2 separate regions of the Homo sapiens genome follow, and region 1 is linked to region 2. The links are contacts of gene promoters, found by promoter capture Hi-C in human tissues and cell types (Jung and others, 2019). All regions are on one chromosome and are shown on one strand. Each heading gives the region's core, a stretch centred on a gene start or on the middle of the fragment in contact. The rest is flanking DNA. Distances are from core to core; before and after follow the strand shown.

Region 1 (5,169 bases), core at 1-2,500, 150 kb after region 2:
CGGAACTAAAAATTGGCAGTGGATCCTTAAAGAGAATTTTATGCCTTTCTTCGTATTGTTTGTATGTATTTACTTGTTGACAGTCTTGTAAGATAGTCAATAATATCCATTATACATATATCTCAGTTAAAATTTACATATATTAAATGTTGCTAGTTGGATAAGTGTCCGTTTTCTGGGGGAATCTTCTCTGGATACAAAAGACCTTTACCTTCGGAGCAGCCATGTAACTTACATGAGGCAAGCTAGGTAGGTAGGTATATTTTATCAAACAGAAGTCTTTAAGAGTGAAGGTGTTCCTGTTCCTAAAATGTGGAATCGGCCCTCTGTTAAGTGGCATTGACTGACTAATAAAAGTATTTTGTACTAAGACAAACCTTTTTCTCAAAGCCTTAGTTTTCTCATTTGTAAAATTTGGATAATACCTGAGTTTCCTTATCTGCTTCACAGGATTATTGTAAAGATCAAATATCCAACTGCCTGTTTGATAGCTCCATATTATACATCTAAATGATACCTCAAATTTATTGTGACAAAACAGAAGTTTTTATTCCTTCTCTCCCTAAATGTATTTATTTCCCAAGTCATTCCCTTTTTAGTAAGTGGACTACCATCAGTGACTTGCTAAATCAAAAGAGTAGTCATTTTGATTTCTTTTGTTCGCTCATCCCACATTCTACTTATTCGTAAGTTTGGTCAGCTCTACCTCTAAAACATATTGAATCAGAATGTATCTTTCCATCTCTGTTGCTATCACCTAGCCCAAGCCACTGTCATTGTTCACCTGGATTATGACCACAGCTTTATATGTTGTCTCCTTTTTATATTCTTGCTTCCCATTAATTTAGTTGCCATACAACTGTCAGAGTAGTCTTTTAAAATTGTAAATTAGATCACGTCATTACCCTGTTTCAAATCTGTTATTGCTCACTGATCTTGGCATAAAATTTATCCTTACCAATGCCATTAAGATCCTTTCTGATCTGACCCTCTCTACCTCTGTGGTCTCCTTGCTCAAGTTGCTCCCCTCATGCTGGACTTCTAACTGAAATTCCATGCTTGTTCCTACCAAAGAGCCTTGATATTTCTGTTCTATCTGGAATGTTCTTACTTCAGACCTCTGCATGCCTGGCTCTTTCTAATGTTACTTTCTCAGAGAGATTTTCTCTTAATTTCTACCCTGTTACCTCCACCCCTAGTCATCCTTTAGACCTTTGTTGCTTTATTTTCTTTACAGCATGCTACTATTTGAAATTACTTTGTTTATGCATTTACTTGCTTATTATCTCTTTCCCAGACTAGAGGGTAAGGACTTTATCTGTTTTGTTCGTCGCTGTGTGTGGAGGGTGATAAAATATTTAACAAGGGGTTAGGCCGGGTATTCACCCGTTGAGTTGGAAGCTGGGACAGGGTCCTGGAGGCTTCTTGCTTTGCTGAATCTTGGGGAAGTCTAGGGCCTAGGGGGTGGGCGTGGGTCCCAAGGAAGAGACTAGGATGGCCAGTGTGGAGTGGAGTGGTGTGCTGTGGGCTGCAGCTATTTACCAACTGGTATAGAACTATTTCAGTATTTGAACACTATCAATTTAGAGCTGTGCCTGGTATGTAATGGGTGCTCTGTAAGTATCTTTTGAGTGAATGAATAATGGGATGACAAAACATGAAAGAAAGAAGGTAATATATGGGAAACTCCTGAAAATAATGAAGTTGGACGTAAGGTATAAAGTGGTGTCTTCCCCTTTACCAGAATATTTGTAGTCATGACTGAGCCAACTTTGGTTTTTAAAGATACAGAATCAAAGTAAAGAGCATAGACCAAGGGTAGTAACAAGTATACAAAATTACATCACTACCTAGCCTTTTTTTAAAAAATAAACTTGTATTTTCCCAATTTTTTTGTGGTAAAATATACGTAACATGAAACTTGCTGTCTTAACCATTTTAAAATGTACAGCTCAGTGGCATTAACTACTTTTCAACTGTTGTGCCACAAACACCATGGCTTACTTTTGAGTGTGCCATCTTGTGGCACTTTTGGTTTCTCTGTTAGATAATGACTTCAAGTATTTCACAGCTTTTGTGTTTCTATTTCCTTATATCTAAGTGGGGGGAGACTTTTTATGCTTTCTCTCATAGAGCTGTCATAAGGATCAAAAAGGAGATAAAATATAGACCAAGCTTGTTTAACCTGCGGCTGGCTTTGAATGTGGCCTAACACAAATTCATAAACGTTCTTAAAACATTATGAGATTTTTTTTTTTTTTAAAGCTCATCAGCTATCCTTAGTGTTAGTGTATTTTATGTGTGGCCCAAGACAATTCTTCTTCTTCCAATGTGGCCCAGGGAAGCTAAATGATTAGACACCCTGATATAGACCATCATGTTCAGTGATCTTAAAGCCAGGGTTGCTGGAATGATGTGGGCACTGGAGACCACAGTGACACTTAGCAGATGCTAGGCACCCATTTTAGGGATGCCTCTACTAGTAGAGCATCTCTTCACCCCCTGCATTGTGACATTGTGCTCCTTGAGATGGAAGGCTCAGATTTAAGAAGAGACCAGCTTTGTCAGAAAGGTGTTTCCCTTCCAGGGCAACACTCAGTGCAGTTTTGAAGTTAGGATGTTTAGATCATTGTAGCATCTAAAACACTCTGATATGAGTTTGAAAAAGATGGCTTTTTAAAATTATGAGTATGAATTAATTAGGTTCTTGCCATGTGCTTAAAGACCAAGTCTTCACTAGTACCTGTGTTACTATATTGTTTTCAGTTTTGCAGGCCTAGGTCAAGGAGAATTTGGATCAGGTCACCGTGACTGAAGAATTGGAAAATAATATGTATGAGAAGATGTTAAAATAAGTGTGACTGTATAGCTTAGAAAATTAAGTTCAGAGTTAAAGAAATACAGTTTTTTTTTCTGTTATGTGGAGGATGCTTAAACAGAGGTGGTAGCCACATTATATACTTTCCTTACCCACTTGTTAAGTCTTTGCATTGCTAAATTAGAGGTCTACATTGTGGATTAACTGAGACTAGCCTGAACCAGATGTCATGTCTGAATTGGGAATAACAAGCCTGAGGTTTTTAGACTGTCTAACCATGTCTGTGTTGGCTATTTATTTTGTAGACTACACTTAAGACCTAAGTAGTTATACTCTACTGCTAAGTCTGTGACTAATTGCAAAGAAGCCATTCTCCATTTGGCTTAGTGGTTGTGAGCAATGACTTTAACATAGCCACAGGCTCACTGGGCTTTGAATCCAATTGTTAGTTGTATGCCCTGAGCAAGTTAACTTATCCAAACTCCTGTTTTTTTCATCTTTAAAATAGGCATAATAATACCCTATTTTACTTGCGGTGAGGACTGAAGGAGGTCATTTATATAAAGGTGTCATCGGTGCAGTGTCTGACGTTGTATGCACTTAGGAATGTCTGGTGGCCCTGGCAGGGAAGCTGTGTGGCCTTCCACAAAGTTTTCTGACCCAGTCTCCTACTTCCTATCACTCACTTTTGTGCGTAGACCCTTTGGGCTACCTCCCTGATGATCGGACAGCTACTTCCCCTCTTTCTGTCTGCCCATCTTCCTCTTGTCCATCATATTTTTCACTTAAATACTTCCTTGGCTCAGTAACAACACTCATATGGTTGTTAATCTGATTATTGCTTAGTATAATTCACTGGAAGGTAGGAGTATATTTCTCTCCAAGGATGTTATTTTAAGGGAATATTTTGTTTAAACCAAATGAATTTGTGAGATCTGTAGTCAGGTATTCATTAGTTCAGTAAATCTTTGTTTAGCTACTATGAGCCCTTCCTAGCACTATGGTAGGTTCTAGGGAATAAAATATATATACATATAAACAATGCCTAGCTTAAAATGTGGGACAGGTGAGCAATAAACAATTGTTTAAAGCGGGCAATAGGTACAATTGGGTAAATATGAATTTATCTAACAAATGTTTTTTTGAGGTATTTTCATGTAACAGGCCTTGTTCCTGGAGTTGAGGATACTAAGGTGAATGACTCCCTGCCTGTTGGTGTGGGTGTGGAGGGCTGGGTTCAGACCTGGAGAGAGGGGAGGTTCCAAGATGGTCAATCCCAGCAGGCCAGGTTGCTGAGGAACCATCAGACAGGGAGAATAGCATGAAGGTGATGATGCTTTTTCTGGTGGTAGGGGAGTGAAGGGAGGCTGGAAGAAAACTAGTTATTTTAAATTTTTAATTTAATTTTATTTTAAATGTCCGTTTTGAAAAGGGGATAATCTAATGAGAAGATAGGGGTGTTTTTTTCCCTTACAATTAAAAAAACTTTAAAAAGTGGAGTAACCACATTGTAGAAGAAATGTGGAAAAATTCTCTCGCAGTTCTAAACCTGAATTATTTATTAGGTGTGATTGCAGTGTAGTTTTTTGAGCCTTTTAAAATTTAGCCTATGTATGTTTTGCCATTTTGCTATTCAGGTGACCAAATAATATTTCATTTAGAGAGAATACCATTGTTTAACATTTTAGATTTCTTTCAAAATTTTTTATAATGTAACACATCTCTTTCTATATTATAAGTGTTTCTTTTCGTGGATTTTTGTCTTTAGAGTGCCAGAAATAGGGTAAATAATTTTAAATTTCAGAGTTTTTAAGACTCTTGGAGCATATTGCTATACTTAAGCAAGTTTATACTAAATTTGGTATTATGTGAAATCTCCAATTTCATGTAAACTTTGCATATTGGGTATGAACATTACAGTTTTAGAAATTTAATTGGTGAAAAATGCTACCTCATTGTTTTAGTAATCATTTTTTTGATTAATGAGGTTGATTATTCTCATGTTTTTATTTATAGATTTATTAACTGTTTGAAAACTTTGTGTTTTTATATTTGTTTCCTATATTTAGACCATTTTAGAGTGGATAAGTGCTATTAGCCTCCATTAAAAAAGTAAGTTAGCCAGGTACAGTGGTGGGAGCCTGTAGACCCAGCTACCTGGAGACTGAGGCTGGAGGATTGCTTGAGGCCAGGAGTTTGAGGTTGCAGTGAGCTGTGATCACACCACTGCACTCCAGCCCAGACCCTGACTCAAAAAAAAAAAAAAGATGAAGTCATTTTATCTGTGTCTATTTGTTTCAATAGATACAGACTACTAGAAATCATGCCCATCAGTCCAAGTTTCTGTAAAA
Region 2 (5,112 bases), core at 1,234-3,733:
GCAGGGTGGAAAAATCATGACTAGATTTCTTCAGAGAGAATTACAGGCTCAAATCAAGAGAAACTGGGCCAGGGGCAGTGGCTTACGCCTGTAATCCCAGCACTTTGGGAGGCCAAGGCAGGAGGATCACCTGAGGTCAGGAATTCAAGACCAGCCTGGCCAACATGGCAAAACCCCGTCTCTACTAAAAATACAAAAATTAGCCAGGCATGGTGGTTCGCGCCTGTAGTGCCAGCTACTTGGGAGGCTGAGGCAGGAAAATCACTTGAACCCAGGAGGTGGAGGTTGCAGTAAGCCGAGATTGCACCACTGCACTCCAGCCTGGGCAACAGATCAAGACTCTTCTCAAAAAAAAAAAAAAAAAAAATTAAGAGAAACTGGTTTGAGGGTTCAGTTCTAGAGGCTGGAGAGTCTGACCTGCTTTGAAGCTTTACGGCAGACACTGTGAGAAGACTAAAGACAAGCTTTTCTGCTGGGCATGGTGGCTCATCCTGTAATCCCAGCACTTTGGGAGGCCAAGGCAGGCGGATCACTTGAGGTCAGGAGTTTGAGACCAGCCTGGCCATCATGGTGAAACCTCGTCTCTACTAAAAATACAAAAATTAGCTGGGCATGGTGGCGTGTGCCTGTAGTCCCAGATATTTGGGAGGCTGAGGCAAAAGAATCGCTTGAAACTGGGAGGCAGGGGTTGCAGTGAGCCAAGATCGCACCACTGTACTCCAGCCTGGGTGACAGAGAGAGACTCCATTTCAAAAAAAAAAAAAAAAAAGACAAGTTTTTCTAAGCTCCCTTGTGCTAGCCGGGGCCATGTAACACAGTTCTGGCCAGTGAGACTGGAACCTCCTCCTCTTCCACCTTCCTGCCTTCAACATAAAAGAAGAAGTCGTAGCAGCCCTCTTGTATACAGTAGGAAAAGGACAAATGAACTACTAGGGAAATGACGACATTGATAATCATAAGCCACTTAATGTGAGCTGACATCTAATTGGGGATGCTCTGTATGCATGGATACTTAATTTCCTATTTATTGGTTGGGTTTTTAATTGCAGCTGGAAAACATCACGTACATATGAAACTGGAGATTTCCAGGACAGTAGGATATATGGGTTTGGAGTAGACCTGGTTGGAAGACTGGGGAACTTTAGGACTCATCAGCATAGATGGTAACTAAAGCCAAAGAGTGGATGGGATAACCCAGAAAGTGGGAAAAGTGCAGAGGGCCAAAGTCAGAGCCCTTTAGAAAAAGCAATATTTAAAAGGCGGGAAGGGAAACAGGATATTGGGATGAAGTGGCCAAAGATGAAGAAAGAATAATATTGGGAAACTGGTGTCACAGAAAACAAGAATGGAAAGCTCTAGAAAGAAGAGAGACCAATATGTGTTAAGTGTTGCTGAGAAGAGCTCTCTTCTCCTGGTTATCTCTTACTTATCCTTCTTACATCTCAAGTCATACAGTATCCTCTGGGAACTCCTCTGACCCCCAAGTCCACCATAGGTGTCCACTCCTGTGTGTTCCTGTAGTTCTAGGCACTTGTCCCATCACAGTACCTCTCATGCTGGGTTGTAATTTCTATCTGTCTCCCTCTCCTTTGTCCTCCACCACAAGGTTGTAATCTCTTGAGAAGGAAGATATGATGTCTATTTCATATTTGTATCTCCAGTGCCTAACACAGCACTGGTACATAGCAGGCTCTTGAAAGTTTTTGTAAGATCGGGGTCACCAAGGCAGGAGCATCTAGGGAAAGGGAGAAGAGGCAGGAAGAAGAAACACTAAGCAAATAGGGGTAACAAGTATCATTACCGGTATGTGTCAGTGCTTGGTGCTAAGACTGGGAGAAAGAGAAGGAAGTGCAGGGGAGATGGTGATGGGTCACAGCCTTGGTGACAAAAGGGTAGGAATGATATGTGGTGCGGACATAGAAGTACAAGGCAAAAGAGTGACGCCGAGCTGCTCAGTTCTTCGGAAGCAGGGACCCCTGCTGATATTCTATAACTTGAACGGCCTCTTCCTCTACACACTGTAGATTCCTTGAGGGTAGGGGTCGTGTTACCAGTGTTTGGCATACTGTGGGTACGCAATAAATGCTAAACGAATATATCTCTGGATCCACAGCGCCTATCACAATGCCTGGGCACCTGGAAGGCGCTCAATAAAACGCTAGCTGGGCCTCGGGGTACAGATGGAGCAGGACGGCTGAGTCGCTGCAGAAGCGCTTCCAGGTAAGGGGAGGGAGTGGGTTTCCACTCCAGACTGGTCGACTCGCTCCGTTCTCTGCCCTTTATTTTGCATGCATCCCTTCACCTCTCCATCACGCGTGCCCTGGACGCCTGGCACCGGAGGAGAAAGTAAAACACCACTCCTGGATGACTCCGGACAAATCACTCCTTCCCGGCCTCAGATCTGCCCAAACGTGCTTACCAGCTTCCCCGCATTCCTGCTCCAGGTTCTCAGCATACGGACTGCAGCCATCTTACCCCGGAAATGACAACAGTGCCGCAAACTGGAGAGACTCTCCTCGGCGCGGCCTATCAGGAGATGGGAAACGCGCCTCCCCCTGGGCGACCAATAGGGAGGGAAGAAACGAGCCTCCCACCCAACAGCCAACCAAGGAGTAGGGCGGAGCCTGAGCTAAACCCTAGGATCTGGGACCCAGCGGGGAGTGAAAAGAGCCTGGGGGACGGAGGCGGGGCAGAGGGCAGCCCAAATTTAACACTGCTGTGTAAATACAGATGCACCAAAGATAATCTTTTTAGTGTATGTGATGGGGAAAATAGAGAGTGTTAAGGAAACACAAAGAAAGGTACTTACCTCAAGAAAGTTATGTTGCAGTAGGACCTGAGCGATGAGTTGGAAAACATTTCCCCGTCTTCATCTTGTAGTGTAGCCGCCCCAAATACAGAAAATAGAATATTTCTATACGTTGTAGCAAGGCTCTGGACAACTAGTTGTTTCACAAGTCCATACAGCAGTACTTCCCAATGACTGCCTTTTTTACTCCCATTTATGTTTTTGATTACCAAAATTGGCTAATCAATTTTTTTCATGAAAGATGAACATTACCTAATGTCTAAAATAAACATGTTATCATCTTTCTTTTTACAGACTGCTATCAGATGCAGCTAACTAGCATATGCAATACATGTCACAGACACATGATCTTGATTTAGTTGTCTCTTAAAGAAATGTCAAATTCAGGTCAAGTGGAACTGGTAAAGAACAGATCAGAGCTTTCTTTTAAAAGGCAATCTTCCTCAGAGCAACTAGGAAACCAATTCCTGGAAATGTCCAGGATGACATTAGTCTGTTATTGCTTCTTACGTGGGAATGAAAATCTGCACAGATGTCTAAGGAATTACAGAGAAAAAAAACTGGAACAAATACATTTTAAATGCTCAACATTGAAGATTAGTGGTTATGAAACAAAATCTCAGGTATTTCACAACTTCATTGTTTAATATGACCCAAACACTTTTCCCCCTCATTTGCCATTTTATGTATTACACATCTACACACAAAAAATCAATGCAAACAATAAATCTTATTATCTTTTTTGTTTGTTTGTTTGTTTGGTAGAGATAGGGTCTCTTGGGCCAGGCGTGGTGGCTCCTGCCCATAATTCCAGCACTTTGGGAGGCTGAGGCAGGCAAATGGCTTGAGCTCAGAAGTTCAAGATGGGATCTCTCTATGTTGCCCAGGCTGGTCTCAAAGTCCTGGTCTCAAACTGCGATCTTCCCATTTCAGCCTCCCAAAGTCCTAGGATTACAGGCATGAGCCACTGGGTCCGGCCTAAATAGCTATCTTTCTCAGAAAATCTAGAGTAGTCAAAAGAATTTCAAGTTTTTACATTTCCTTAAAAATGTTTATAGACATTATTAATATATTTGATAATCCCACAAGCATGTGTTTGTATAAAAAGCAGTGGCAGTTGTACCTTTGAAGTGAATCATCTCCCTTCCAAGCTGCTGCTATACAACTTTCTTTGTCCTAATTTCGTTTTTAACTGTACCTGCTCCTCAGAAGATAACTAGTTTATTTTCCTTTACCGTCTTCTTATGTCAATGGATTCTTGCTTCTATATTCAGTATAATATGTGTCCTTATCTTTCATTCCAGCATCTGGAAAGAAATACACCATCTATTCCCTAGTTAATTCTTTTATTCGAGTTTGAAAGAAACAAAGACCCCATTTCTTCTCTTTTTTTAGATTTAAAAATGGCCAGTTATGACCCACCAATTCCACTCCTGGATAGCTACATAAGAGAAATGACAACAGTGTTCACACAAAGACTTGAATAGGAATAATCATAACAGCATAACAGCCAAAATCTAGAAACAGCCCAGATGTCCATTAACAGGTGAATAAACAAAATGTGGTACATCCATATTCTGAAATATTATTCATCCTTAAAAATGACTGAATTAGCGATAATTGCTATGACATGGATGAATGTCAAAAAAATATTATGCTAAGTAAAAGAATACAAGCACAAAAGATCACATATTACATTATTCCATTTAAATTAAATGTCCAGAAAATGTTGATTTATAGAGATGAAAAACAGATTAGTTTTAGTTATATTAGTTATATAATAAGATTATATTAGTATTATTAATTAATAAGGTTAGCATTAGAAAACAAATTCGCCTGGGGCTAGAGGTGGAAGGGGCAGTGATTGCAGAGGCAAGAGAGATTTTTTTTGTGGTGATGAAAATTTTCTGTTGCCACTTTGTGGCAATGATTGCATAATTCTGTACATTTACTAAAAATCTTTGAATTATACACTTAAGACAGGTGAATTTTATGGTATGTAAAGTACACCATAATAAAGCTGTTAAAACTGTGTTATATGAGACAATAATGAACATATGAATAAAAACAAATACATAAGTCTGGACGTGGTGGCTCATGCCTGTAATCCCAGCACATTGGGAGGCGAAGGCGGGTAGATCACGAGGTCAGCAGTTCGAGACCAGCCTGGCCAACATAGTGAAACCCCATCTCTACTAAAAATACAAAAATTAGCCAGGCATGGTGGCATGCGCCTGTAGTCCCAGATACTCGGGAGGCTGAGGCAGGAGAATTGCTTAAATCTGGGAGGCGAAGGTTGTGGT

The links. The method cuts DNA at HindIII sites, captures the fragments that hold promoters and counts their contacts. A contact is called where the count stands out against the background at its distance.
Region 1: a fragment that was not itself captured here is called in contact with the fragment with the promoter of DBT in region 2 in 1 of the 25 tissues and cell types used here (pancreas).

The regions. Positions count from the first base shown.
Region 1 is chr1:100,394,785-100,399,953 of GRCh38, forward strand. All of the region lies in intron 4 of CDC14A (cell division cycle 14A), which reads left to right. Among named protein-coding and RNA genes, the nearest start is that of CDC14A, 45 kb to the left of the region's middle. The HindIII fragment of the contact is 8,031 bases long and covers 1-5,169 here.
Region 2 is chr1:100,247,351-100,252,462 of GRCh38, forward strand. It overlaps DBT (dihydrolipoamide branched chain transacylase E2), which reads right to left and starts at 2,484. Exons shown (of 11, transcript NM_001918.5): 1 at 2,420-2,484. The coding sequence starts at 2,470. RefSeq lists enhancers at 1,653-2,212, 2,213-2,772, 2,374-2,493 and a silencer at 2,604-2,703. The HindIII fragment of the contact is 17,632 bases long and covers 1-5,112 here.